Regions from separate parts of the Homo sapiens genome. Here regions 1, 2 and 4 are each linked to region 3. The links are contacts of gene promoters, found by promoter capture Hi-C in blood cells and fetal thymus (Javierre and others, 2016). All regions are on one chromosome and are shown on one strand. The core of a region is centred on a gene start or on the middle of the fragment in contact, and the rest is flanking DNA. Distances in the headings are between cores, read along the strand shown.

Region 1 (2,700 bases), core at 122-2,621, 400 kb after region 3:
GGGTAAGAACAAGGTCAACTTTGTGCCTATAGGCAAGGGGAGCTGAGAGATCTATGGGGATATCTCTGGCCCACCCAAAACCTGGACTTCCCAGTTTCTCAACCTCATTCCTTCATCTGCATATCCCTCCTATCCCTATCCCTACACCCATGATGGCTAAGAAAGTGTTCTCAGGGGCGTAAGTTTCAGGAAGGCATTGGCAACTATGATAATTTCAAGTTATATAAATTGTAAGAGCAAAGATAGGGGCTCTTAGTGAAAAAGAAGCTCCATGTTTTCTTTCTCCCAACCCACACCTAGTTGAATCCACATCTAAGACTATTAGATATGTATACAAGGCTTAGGAGTACCCCCATGAACTTCTGTTCTCATGAGCTCCCTTGGGCTATGCTTAGGTCCACTCTCTGGTCACCTCTTCCCCGGCAGATGGAGCATCATGGCAGAGTTGGTGGTGTGTGATAGACTGCAAAAATGGCTGTAAGTTATTCTTCTACTTTCCGTTCTGTAATGTGACTTGAAACATATCCCATCAAGAGTCTTTTTTCCTATCCCTTGAATCTGGGGTGGTTTTTGTGAATGGCTGAAAGAATATGGCAGAAGAGACACTTCAAATTCTAAACCTACACCAAAAGAGGCTTTACCTGCTTCCATTTGCTTTCCTTGAACCTTGAGCTGTCCTGTGACCAAGTCCAGGCTAGCTTGCTAATTGATGACAGACATGTAGCCCTGTTACCCCTGTACCCCCAAGTGACGTCCAGTCAACTTCCAGAAGCAGAGCTGTCAGCTGTGTGAGCGATGCCACCCTAGATCATCCAGCCCCTAGCTGAGCCTCCAGCTGAAGGCACACACGTAAAGAAGCTTAGCCTGGAGCAACGAAACCAGACTCAAATTAGCAGAACCACCCAGCCAGCCCCTGGACTCATAAGCAATAATAGATGGTTATTACTTTAAGCCACTAATTTAAGGGAGGGTTGGTTTGTTATGCAGCAAAAGCTACCAGACACAGGGTGAAATGGAGAAGAGATAAGAAATGCATTGTCCTATGTAACAAAAAGATTATATGCTAATCATAGTATCTGACACATCACAGGGCCACTTCTCTTCTGACAAAGGCACCCCTTTCTCCTTTCTTCTGGGTTGATGCAGCCCCACATAAAGATGCATGACTTGCCACGTGGTGCAGATAGGATACAGCTCCTACTTTCCCCCTCAGTCAGTTACCCTTGTGCATGGCACAACTTGCTCAACTGCAAGCAGCCTCCTTGCATGCCATCAAAGCGTCTTCTTTTGCCCTCTCTAGGCAGCAATACTGTACTATGCTATACCCCAACACAGCTCACTGGACAAGAACTTGGTACCTGACCAGGTGATGGCAAATCATATTCTTGCTTTTGGAAATCTGGATTATAAAATTGGAGAAAGTCAGTTAGTAGTAGGAGTAGAAGGTAAACAAAGATGCATCTAGAAAGGTCTTACAGTAGAGTATGGGGGCGTGAGTGCTGAAGGGCTGTGGAAGGTTATGGCAAGCTGAAATTGAGAAATCGTAAGTAAAAAGGAACTGGAAACACAGAGAGAATACAGAGGGTTGTGAGAAGAACGGTGATATCTGGCAGAGGAGCAGATACACTGGGCATGGCTTAGTTGGGTTAATGACACAGCACCACGGTGAGGAGTATGAGGACCTGTCCTGTCACTGAAGTCCTCCAGCCACCAGGGATCTGGAACTAGCTTCCACCTAGACTCTTGAGACCCTGCACTTTTAGGGTCCCGTCTGGGTTTCTGAAAGACTCAGATTCTTGGCTTATTTGTCTCCCTTACTTGGGTTGACCCCAGTGATGCTCTGTTCCTTGTATACTAATGACCCCCAAGTTAACCAGAAGCTTATCTCCCAAGACCCATGACCTCACAGATCCAAAGGCAGGCAAATCCCATCACTACCCATCTATGAACTTTCTTCTCAACAGTCCCCACCTGTGCCCCAGGTCTTGGTAAGACAAACCTAGGGGAAATGACTGCCAGGGTCAGCAGGGTGTGGGGCTGCAGAGCAAAGGAAAATGTGCCATCAGGAAGCAGCTATGGCACAAACACCCAGACCTACTGTCACTGCTGATCCAGCCCACAATGCCTCTCTCTCTGGACAAGATTCTTCCAACACCCAGTGTATACTCATATCTGGGGAGTCACCACCACCCATGAAGTCCTCTCTCCCACCTCAGGAAGGAATCTCTCTGCTCTCAGGCCTTGCTAACCCTCTCCCTTTAGGACCCAGTCATCCCAGAGCTGGAAGACCCTATAGAGATTACCCTGTCTCATTTGTAAATGAGGACCCAAAGTCACAGAGGCTGACCAAAGCAGAAAGCAGAAAGTGTAAGAATTGGAACCCTTAATTCCTGTCTCCTTCCTATTTGAAAAGGGCCCCAGCCAGCAGAGAGGGTCTATTAGGAAAACTGCGGTCAGTGAAAAATAGTGTGCATTCATTCATTCTGTTTTGATCAGTGATCGTGTGCCAAACCCTGTACTTAACAAGCTGAACTCACTGTGATTCCCTTAAATAATATAATCTTCAACATTCTCTTTGGACCAACCCAACCCAAGCCCAGAGCCTGGAGCCCAGAGCTCAGCTCAGAGCCAATGACAGAGCCCAAACCCAGATACCACAGGATACCAGTGACCCCAGAGGCCCCCAGAAAATTATCAATA
Region 2 (2,700 bases), core at 103-2,602, 430 kb after region 3:
TCTTACAAAATTGACATTTCTCATCTGCTGTCATGTTTTCTATCATTGCATTTAGTCTTGTAGTTTATATACTTTATTTCTTTATTTTCCTTTTTGGGCACTGTCCCAGGAAAGCAAAGATAAATGCATATGTTACATCTGTCATGTTTAACTGGAAGTTCTACCTAAGCTTTTCACAATGTAGCTCCTGCTTATATTTGTGCACTTCGTGTCCTGTCACTACTCTATGGCCCTGCCAAAATGAATTACCAATAGCTTTCTGAACACACCAGGAAGCTTCCAGATTTGCCTTTATTTTTTTGGCCTCCTTTTTCCGGAATACCTTTCTAACCCCTCCCACCTGTCTGCCTATAAGTTACTCATTTTTCAACAGCTAACTCAATTTCACCTTCTCAAAGGGGCTTTTCTTGACTTTTCCTCGTACCAGTTGAGAAGACTGCTCGGGGATCCAGAATATTTCCTGCATTTTTTTTGTTTGGATAATTATCTGTCCTACAAAGGGAATCCATTTTATTCATCAGACCCTGTAGTGCCAAGTTGAGGGTCTAATACATAGTAAAAACTAAAATAATGTTAAATGAACGAATGAAGAGAGTAACAAAGAACGGTGGGATTGTAGAGAAAGGAGAGGCTGACTGAAAACGTTTCGAGAGAGCAGTGTTTTTAAGCTGTTCTTCAGAGAAGTTTTTGACAACTGGAGATGGTGTCAGGAATTTTCCAGGCAGTGGGAACAGGACAAGCAAAGCTTCCCTGAAGACAAGCAATATGCTAAAGAAATAGCAAATCATCCAGTTTGGAAGGAGCATTGGTAAGACCAGATCATGCAGGGCGTTGAGGTTATAGAAAGGAGTTTAACTATTGTTCTGAAGATAATGGAGAGTTAAAAGGTTTAAGCTGGAGAGAAAGAGAATTAGTCTTGTGTTTTAGCATTATCACCTGTGGCTGCAGACGGATAATGAATGCGAGGGGCATGAGTGGAAGCTGGAAGACAGCGAGATCATGGAGATGAGGAGAAACTGGATGTTGTGATCTACGGGTGGGTGGGGGGCAGTGGTGGTAAGTGGGGATAGAGATCCGGGCACGACCGCCGGATGTGTAGGCGGTAGAATGCACAGGACTCAGTAAAAGATGAACATGGGGAGTGAGGGAGGAGTTTTTAGTTAGTATGAACGGGAAGGCGAGGGTACCATTTACAGCGACGGGTAACCACGCGGGAGGAGCAGGTCAACTCCCGACAGTGGAGGTGAAGATGCGTGCGCCTCGCGCACCTTGTCCCTCGCGCGACGCCGTCCGCGCCGCCCGCGGTTCGGTCGGGAGCGGCAGCCCGTGCTCCGGTTCCGGTTCCGGTTCCGGCTGGCGTCTGCACCTGCGACCACCGTGAGCAGTCATGGCGTACTCCACAGTGCAGAGAGTCGCTCTGGCTTCTGGGCTTGTCCTGGCTCTGTCGCTGCTGCTGCCCAAGGCCTTCCTGTCCCGCGGGAAGCGGCAGGAGCCGCCGCCGACACCTGAAGGTAAGAGCAGGCCAGCTCCCTCTGAGCTTCCCGGCGCCGAAGAGTACGGAGAACGCTGCTTGAGGGAGGGGTGACTCTGAGAGTCTGCAGCCTTCACCGAAATATCCACCAAACTGACTGGAGAGGGCGGGCGAGACGGCGTTGAAGGGCCAATGCCCACGGTTCCGTTGTTATCAGCGGGTGGCGGCCCAGATGGTTCTGCTGCTGGAAGGGTCAGGAACGTATGCATGCAGGTCTGTGCATCCTCTAGGTGGCCTTGCGTACTCCCGTTTAGGCGCAGTCCCTTCTCTCTTACCCCGCTGGCTTAACTCATCTCGTCACCATTTGTTCACGTGCTTTGAGTCAAGGGTTCCCAGTTGGGTTTCCCTCTTTAGGTTTTCCGTGTACTTTCTGACGCGCCGCTTGGTACGAAATCAAGGCAAATGGAATTGGTACAGCAAACCTTAAGTCGTTATGTTTTTTCAACTTGGTGCTGGGCGCTCACTGCTTCAGGCTCTTCTTGTGCCTTTAAAAATATATCTTGAAGATTTTAATAACCCCAGTTTCAGTTACTGAGGTGGTTATGAACAAATTATTACGTTCCCCTTATTGAAACAGTATTTATCTGTTAATTCTTCGTTGTTGGCATGATGTATGTGGTGTTTAAAAATTCATCCTCTTAGCTGCACTGGGGCCTTTTACAGAATGAGTGTAAAGGCACGGTGCTGAAGGCTGGGAGAAGGAACCAGAACAGTTTTCTATAGGTCATGAAGTTCTACTGGTAACTTTCTCCTGTAAATTATCCTTGTAATATCTTTGAGACATGATTTTACGGTGTCTGAACACTTCCAGTAATGTTTAAACTGTTGATTGCTGGACAGCTCCTTTTGAACTGTAATCCACTTCCGTCTGCTTTATGCACATTGACTGTAGTTCCATTCTCTTGAGCATCATACACACTATAAATGCAAAGCACCAAGCTTTAGGGGTGGAGGGCAGGTTGAACACATAATTCTGTTTACAGAATTTGCCTGATAATCTTTATGCTTGTAAGACTATCCACTTGGGACGGACTTCTAAAACATCTTTGCGTATTTGTTCTTTTTTTTTCCTTTCTGTCTTATTGCAATAATCCCAAAGATTTTTACCTGCTTTGTCTAATGATATTGTCTACTTTGAAGAAGAGTCAATTCATGATGATCCTGAACAG
Region 3 (2,772 bases), core at 273-2,772:
CTTAAAAAGAGATTAAAAGTATCAGGGTGCATAGCATGTGATGTGGGTAATGTTTTATAAAACTTGTTTCATTTACTAAATATATGAGTACCTGTGTATTGAGTGATAATGTAAAACATATTTATTTTGATGGATTGTGCTCAAAAAAGTTTGAAAAGCTCTGCGCTGGACAAGCTGGTAGGATTCTGCTACAAAGATGTAATAAACAACATTCTTAAAGTAATCCCTCTAGTAAATGCAGAGGTATCATGAATTTTTTTAAACAGCATCTCTTAATATAAGCAAATGGCATAGTGCTAAACATGACTTGGTTCATGCAATGTTGCCAACGGTGAAGACAAAATGGTACAAACATACAGTTTTTTGGTGGTCTGGTTTAATCCAGGGCAAAACGCAGTCCAGTGGTTGCTTTTGTTTTTAGAGGCAGGGCTGGCTATGTCGCCCAGGCTGGAACCTGTGAATATGTTACCTTATATGCAAAGGGCACTTTACAGATGTGATTAAGGACCTTAAGATGCGGGAGATTATCCTAGGAGATCTTTTTTAATCTCCTAGAGCCTGGTACCTAGTAGGACGTCATTATATGGTAGGTTTCTTGCAGCCCTTTGGTGGCCAGGTAGTTTTTAATTTTGTAGAGATGGGGGCCTCCCAGTGTTACCCAGGCTGGTCTTGAACTTCTGGGTTCTAGCAATCCTCCTGCCTTGGCCTCCCAAAGTGCTGAGATTATCGGTGTGAGCCACTGCGCCCGGCCTAGTCCAGTGGTTTGAAGTTTGAAGTTACCAGTCACCCATTATGACCATTTTGAGTTTTTTGATGAAAAGGACTGGATGAACTAGTTGCCAAATGTAGCCTCCCCCGAAGCAATACAATGAATCCACCTGCCGTATCAAGTTACTGGCTATCAATCAGCTAATTTTAGAGAACATCTGCCTCAAATAATTAGGCTAGTATTAGGAGAGTTGAATTTCTTCCCCACACTGCTAGAGAGTAGGACCCAGGACCACAGAAGCCATTCTTAGTTCAGGCCAGTAAATACATTAGCATACAGCTGGACCCTCTGTTGCATGGGGCAGGCATTCAGATGGTTCTCATAGGTTTGTAGCTAAAACATATCCCTGAGAATCGTCATTTGATCTGTCAGGAGTCTTCTCAGCCCCTGCGTGGGGACAAACACCCTCCCCCCAGCATTTTCCCGTCTTTTTAGGCCAGCTCCCCACTCACTGCAGTTCAAGGCTTGCAGCCCTTGCTCCAACTGGCTGGGGCTTGATGGGCTTGACTCCGAGTGAGAAGAGTGGCCTGAGCATCAATCACCTCAGTACTGTGATATTCCTGCTACAAAGCTTTATTTTACGTAACACGTGGCTGCTCCTCTGTGCCCCAGACGGGGTTTTAGGTCCTTCTCTAAGGCGAGCTGCCCTTGGGCGCGCCTGGGGCTGCACCTGGGTCACGTGGGCGCCGTTGTGCAGCCGGCACCTCCCGGCCAACCCCGCGGCTTGGAGAAGGGGCTTTGCACCCGCCGCCGCTGTTTGTCCTCGCGCGGCCCCCGTCCACTGCCCTGCGGTTGCTCTGCGGGCTGAAAAGTTTCTCCCGGTGCAGAATTCCGGGCTCAGCGACAGCCTGCGCCGAGTGTGCGCACCTGTCGGAGACCCGCCAGTCCGCCGGCCGCGGTGAGTGGTCCCTGGAGTCACTGGCTCAGGGCGGGCCCGCGGGATGGGGCGGGCGGCCCGGGGCGCAGCCGGCCAGGCCGTTGCTATGGCAACGCGGTGGAAAAACGGGCCTCTGGGTATCTCGCTGCCGGCCGGCTGGTAACCCCCCAGCGGAGGGACCGGGCCGAGCCCGCGGACCCCTCCGAGTGTCTCCTGGGGCCCAGCCGTTGGTACCCCATTTCCCCCGGGTCCGGTATTTGGGGTGGTCTCTGTCTGCCCCGGTTCATCTCCACCGTCTCACCTTCACCCCATCTTGGGACGTGAAACTTTTTGAAAGTTTAGAAGCGAACTTACTGTGGGGTAAGTGTGTGGGAAACATCCTTAGAAGTTCTGAAGTTGTGTTTCTTTTTTTTAAACTGCTAGAGCCTGGTACCTAGTGGGACCCCATTATATGGTAGGTTTCCTGTTGCCCTTAAGATAGTCTCTTGCACCTAGAGGCTGCACATAGGAGGTGAAAGGATGACATAAAGCAGCCCCGTACTGGCTCTGTGGACAGGTAATTTAAGAACTCTCCCTCAGCTTCCTAAATGTAGATTATAATTTCTCACAAGGTCGTGGGTTTCAGTGAACCTATATGTGAAGCTGTTTTGTGAACAGTACATGTGAAAAGCACTTGAGCGTTAGTAAGGGATATTTGCATGCTAAGAGTGGTCTGGTGCTCCCCGTCCCATATCACCAGCTAAGAAGGACCTTCTTTTTTGCCTGACCACCAAATGACTCCAATATCCAACCAGAAAATAGGATAGTCCTGCCTTGAAAGAGGGCTCTGTGAATGGAAAGGAACATCAACAAGTTTTGAACCCAAACTCTTTCCTTGTTCTCCAGGCCCGTGCCTTTAGACAGTGATGGATATGCAGATATATCGCGCATTTAAATTTTTAGCTCGTGTAAATCTCTGTTGCTATCTCAATGGGTCATACCAACCTCTAGTTTGCAAATCAGAAATCTTGGCCTCATCCTTGACACCTCGCACTTTCTTCCTTTCCATATCCAAACAATCATCAAGTTCTATTCATTTTATCTTCAAACCAAATCTCAAATCCATTTGAGTATCTCTGTCTCTGCT
Region 4 (2,765 bases), core at 176-2,675, 330 kb after region 3:
GTCTGGCTGCCTGGCCTTCCTCTCTGGCCCAGCTAGTCCCTTGACCCATCCTACCACCACTCACTATAGTGATCAATTGTCCTTGTTTGCTCAGGACGATCTCAATTTTAGTACTGAACATCCTGTATCCTAGGAAACCCTTGAGTCACAAGGCAAACTTGGACAGTTGGTCAGTGCACACCCAAAACCTTCTCAGGGCTGTGGTGCAGGGGTAGGGGAGATTTCTTTGCTATGGTGCAGATTTGGCTTAGGCCTCCACAAGGCCTAACAATCTATAACTGCTGCTTGCAAGAAGGCCTGTCCAGGCTCTCCAGAAACCAAAAGAGGAAAAGTTTGCCGACTGTGCACTTCTTCACTCCAGCGGGTTGCAAATTCCTGTGCATTGGCTGCTTTTGTGTAAGCAGGGGGAAGGGAAGGGCATCTGAACATGGCCAGCAGGCATCCTGATTGCACTGCGAAGTCTGTAGGTTTACTCTGTCCTGTCAACTGTGGTGGCCACAGAGAAGGGGTCCTCGTCACCCCAATACCTCTCTGAGCATCACCTGTGTGGCTAGCTTGTAACTCCGTCTTGGAGGCAGCTGCATTGTGTTGGGAGCAGGCCCTCTGGCTGAGGCACATCTGACAGTCTCCACCAAAGACTTCTGTAATATCTAGTCGGCCTGGGCCCTCAGGCCCTGGGTCCCACTATCTCCCACCCCCACTCCTAATGCAGGAACTCTTCCTCGGGACTTTCCTGCCAGGTGGAGGGGCAAATTGCTGGGACCTGCCCAGATATTTGTAAGACAGCCAGTAGCACCCACTTTCTCCTTAAACTAACCTTGGGGATTGATAGTTGTCCTCTCCCTGCCATTCCCAGAGGCATTTCGAGGGCATTTTGGAGCACTCTTGGCTTGTCGAAGTGAGAGTACATGCTCATCACCTGTGGAATGTGTTGGGGGAAAACTACCTCCCCCAGCCCCAGGGGATCTGAGGATTCCACTCTGGTGCTGTGGGCGTGTCCCTGGACCTAGAAGCAGCTTGGGTGGGGTGAGCATGGGGGTGGGGCGAGTATGGGGGTGGGAGTTACTTGCTTGCCCAGTGAGTGGAGAGAGGCCATCAGATGGGGTGAGTGATGTTTCTATCTGCCTCTGTCAACCCAGCAAGCCCCTTCCTGGCTGGAAGCTCAAGCCACCCAAACCCTCCAAGACTTGCTGTGAAGGTTCCTCTCCAGATCAGTTTGGGAGCACCATGCTCACAGCTGGGGGTGCAGAAAGAGCCACCTGTGGGCACACACAGCACCAGTCCCCTGCTGGCATGCCCTACCTGCTTCTGCAGCCCATTGCTCAGCACCCCAGGCCTGCTCCAGTCCCTGGGTTTGGGGCACAGGGCCCTGACTCCCCAAAGGGATGCCAGTCATGTGGCTGCCAATTAGGTACCTTGGAGGCTGAGGTGAGCTGGTATTCAGACAAACTCGTGGACAAGAGAGTGGAAGAGTGGCCACAGCTAGCCCAGTCCTGGTTTGTGGGTCAGGGCCAGCCCCTGAAAGTGAGGAGAATCTGCCCCTGGAGGTCAGTAGTAAGGCTGCATGCAGCCCCGATGGAGTGAACGCCTCCAGTAGCACAGAGGTTTCTACGGCAAGAAGTTGCCCCTTGCCAGCCTGTCAGGCCCTGTGCTTGCTACACTGTCTAGCCCCCAGCTCTGGTGGGTGTGAGGGGCTGGCACCAAATATGCCGGTGGCAGCGGTGCCAAAGCCTCCCTCAGACCCTGAGGGCATGGGTCTGGCGGCAGTGGCAGGGGAGAGATCAAGCTCGCAGTCCTGAGGCTGGTGAGTCTGAGCAAAATGATATATTTAACATCAAATATACTCAAGGACTATTAGGATTAAGTATTCAAGATGAAGGGGAAAGTGAAACCCTCTGAGCTGCAGATGAGGCATCTCATTAGAAGCAGCGCTTTTCTGTTTTCTCAAAGCCTGACTTCCCTGCCTAGCAGAGAGGAATATGGCTGCAGCCCGCTGCTCCCCATCCCTGTCAAGCACTGGGGCCTCCCAGGGCTTAAAGGGTAAGACCTAGCCTCCAGGTCTCCTTCAAACCAGATAATCTCCCCCCATCCCCCTGCATTGTCTGGAGTGCCACAGTTTACAAAGCACATTAACATGCATTAGCTCATCTGACCCCCACAGCAACCATAGATACAGGAAGAGTAGGTCTCCCACCTCACAGCCAAGGAAACTGAGGCCCAGATAGAGAAAGAGACTTGCTAAGGTCCACTGTTGGTAATTGGCAGAGATGAGATAGAATCCCAACTGGTGGCCCTTCAGCCCGTTTCTCTTTCCCTGGGTCTAGTCCTCAGAAGTGATTGCCAGGACCAAGCCTCCAACACATCTGTCTGGAGCCCTCCTTGGGCTGAAGAAAAATCATTATTTCTATCCCACCTTGGAACTCTGTACTGTCTAGGCAAAGAAAAAAGACTTGGGATTTAAAAGTAGGTGGCCTTCCGGCCAGGCGCAGCAGCTCACGCCTGTAATCCCATCACTGTGGGAGGCTGAGGTGGGTGGATCACGAGGTCAGGAGTTCGAGACCAGCCTGGCCAATATGGTAAAACCCCGTCTCTACTAAAAAATACAAAAATTAGCTGGGCGTGGTGGTGTGTGCCTGTAATCCCAGCTACTCGGAAGGCTGAGGCAGAAGATTCGCTGGAACCTGGGAGCCGGAGCTTGCAGTGAGCCGAGATCACACCACTGCACTCCAGCCTGGGCAACAGAGCAAGACTCCATCTTAAAAAAG

Evidence for each region. Contacts are between HindIII fragments. The CHiCAGO score rates a contact against its expected background, and 5 or more counts as called.
Region 1: a fragment that was not itself captured here is called in contact with the fragment with the promoter of STK33 in region 3 in 5 of 17 cell types (total B cells, M0 macrophages, M1 macrophages and 2 more); the score reaches 9.3 in total B cells.
Region 2: the fragment with the promoter of RIC3 here is called in contact with the fragment with the promoter of STK33 in region 3 in 8 of 17 cell types (naive B cells, total B cells, endothelial precursors and 5 more); the score reaches 8.8 in naive B cells.
Region 4: a fragment that was not itself captured here is called in contact with the fragment with the promoter of STK33 in region 3 in 1 of 17 cell types (M0 macrophages); the score reaches 5.8 in M0 macrophages.

The regions. Positions count from the first base shown.
Region 1 is chr11:8,194,000-8,196,699 of GRCh38, reverse strand. No RefSeq gene overlaps it. Among named protein-coding and RNA genes, the nearest start is that of RIC3-DT, 26 kb to the right of the region's middle. The HindIII fragment of the contact is 1,022 bases long and covers 861-1,882 here.
Region 2 is chr11:8,167,677-8,170,376 of GRCh38, reverse strand. RIC3 (RIC3 acetylcholine receptor chaperone) reads left to right here and starts at 1,352. Exons shown (of 6, transcript NM_001206671.4): 1 at 1,352-1,511. The coding sequence starts at 1,388. It overlaps RIC3-DT (RIC3 divergent transcript), which reads right to left and starts at 1,307. Exons shown (of 5, transcript NR_187234.1): 1 at 1,188-1,307; 2 at 389-492. The HindIII fragment of the contact is 1,725 bases long and covers 748-2,472 here.
Region 3 is chr11:8,592,978-8,595,749 of GRCh38, reverse strand. STK33 (serine/threonine kinase 33) reads left to right here and starts at 1,522. Exons shown (of 16, transcript NM_001352389.2): 1 at 1,522-1,667. RefSeq lists a silencer at 1,700-1,959. The HindIII fragment of the contact is 2,062 bases long and covers 1,343-2,772 here.
Region 4 is chr11:8,264,643-8,267,407 of GRCh38, reverse strand. It overlaps a transcript of LMO1 not described here. Among named protein-coding and RNA genes, the nearest start is that of LMO1, 2.1 kb to the right of the region's middle. The HindIII fragment of the contact is 3,262 bases long and covers 1-2,765 here.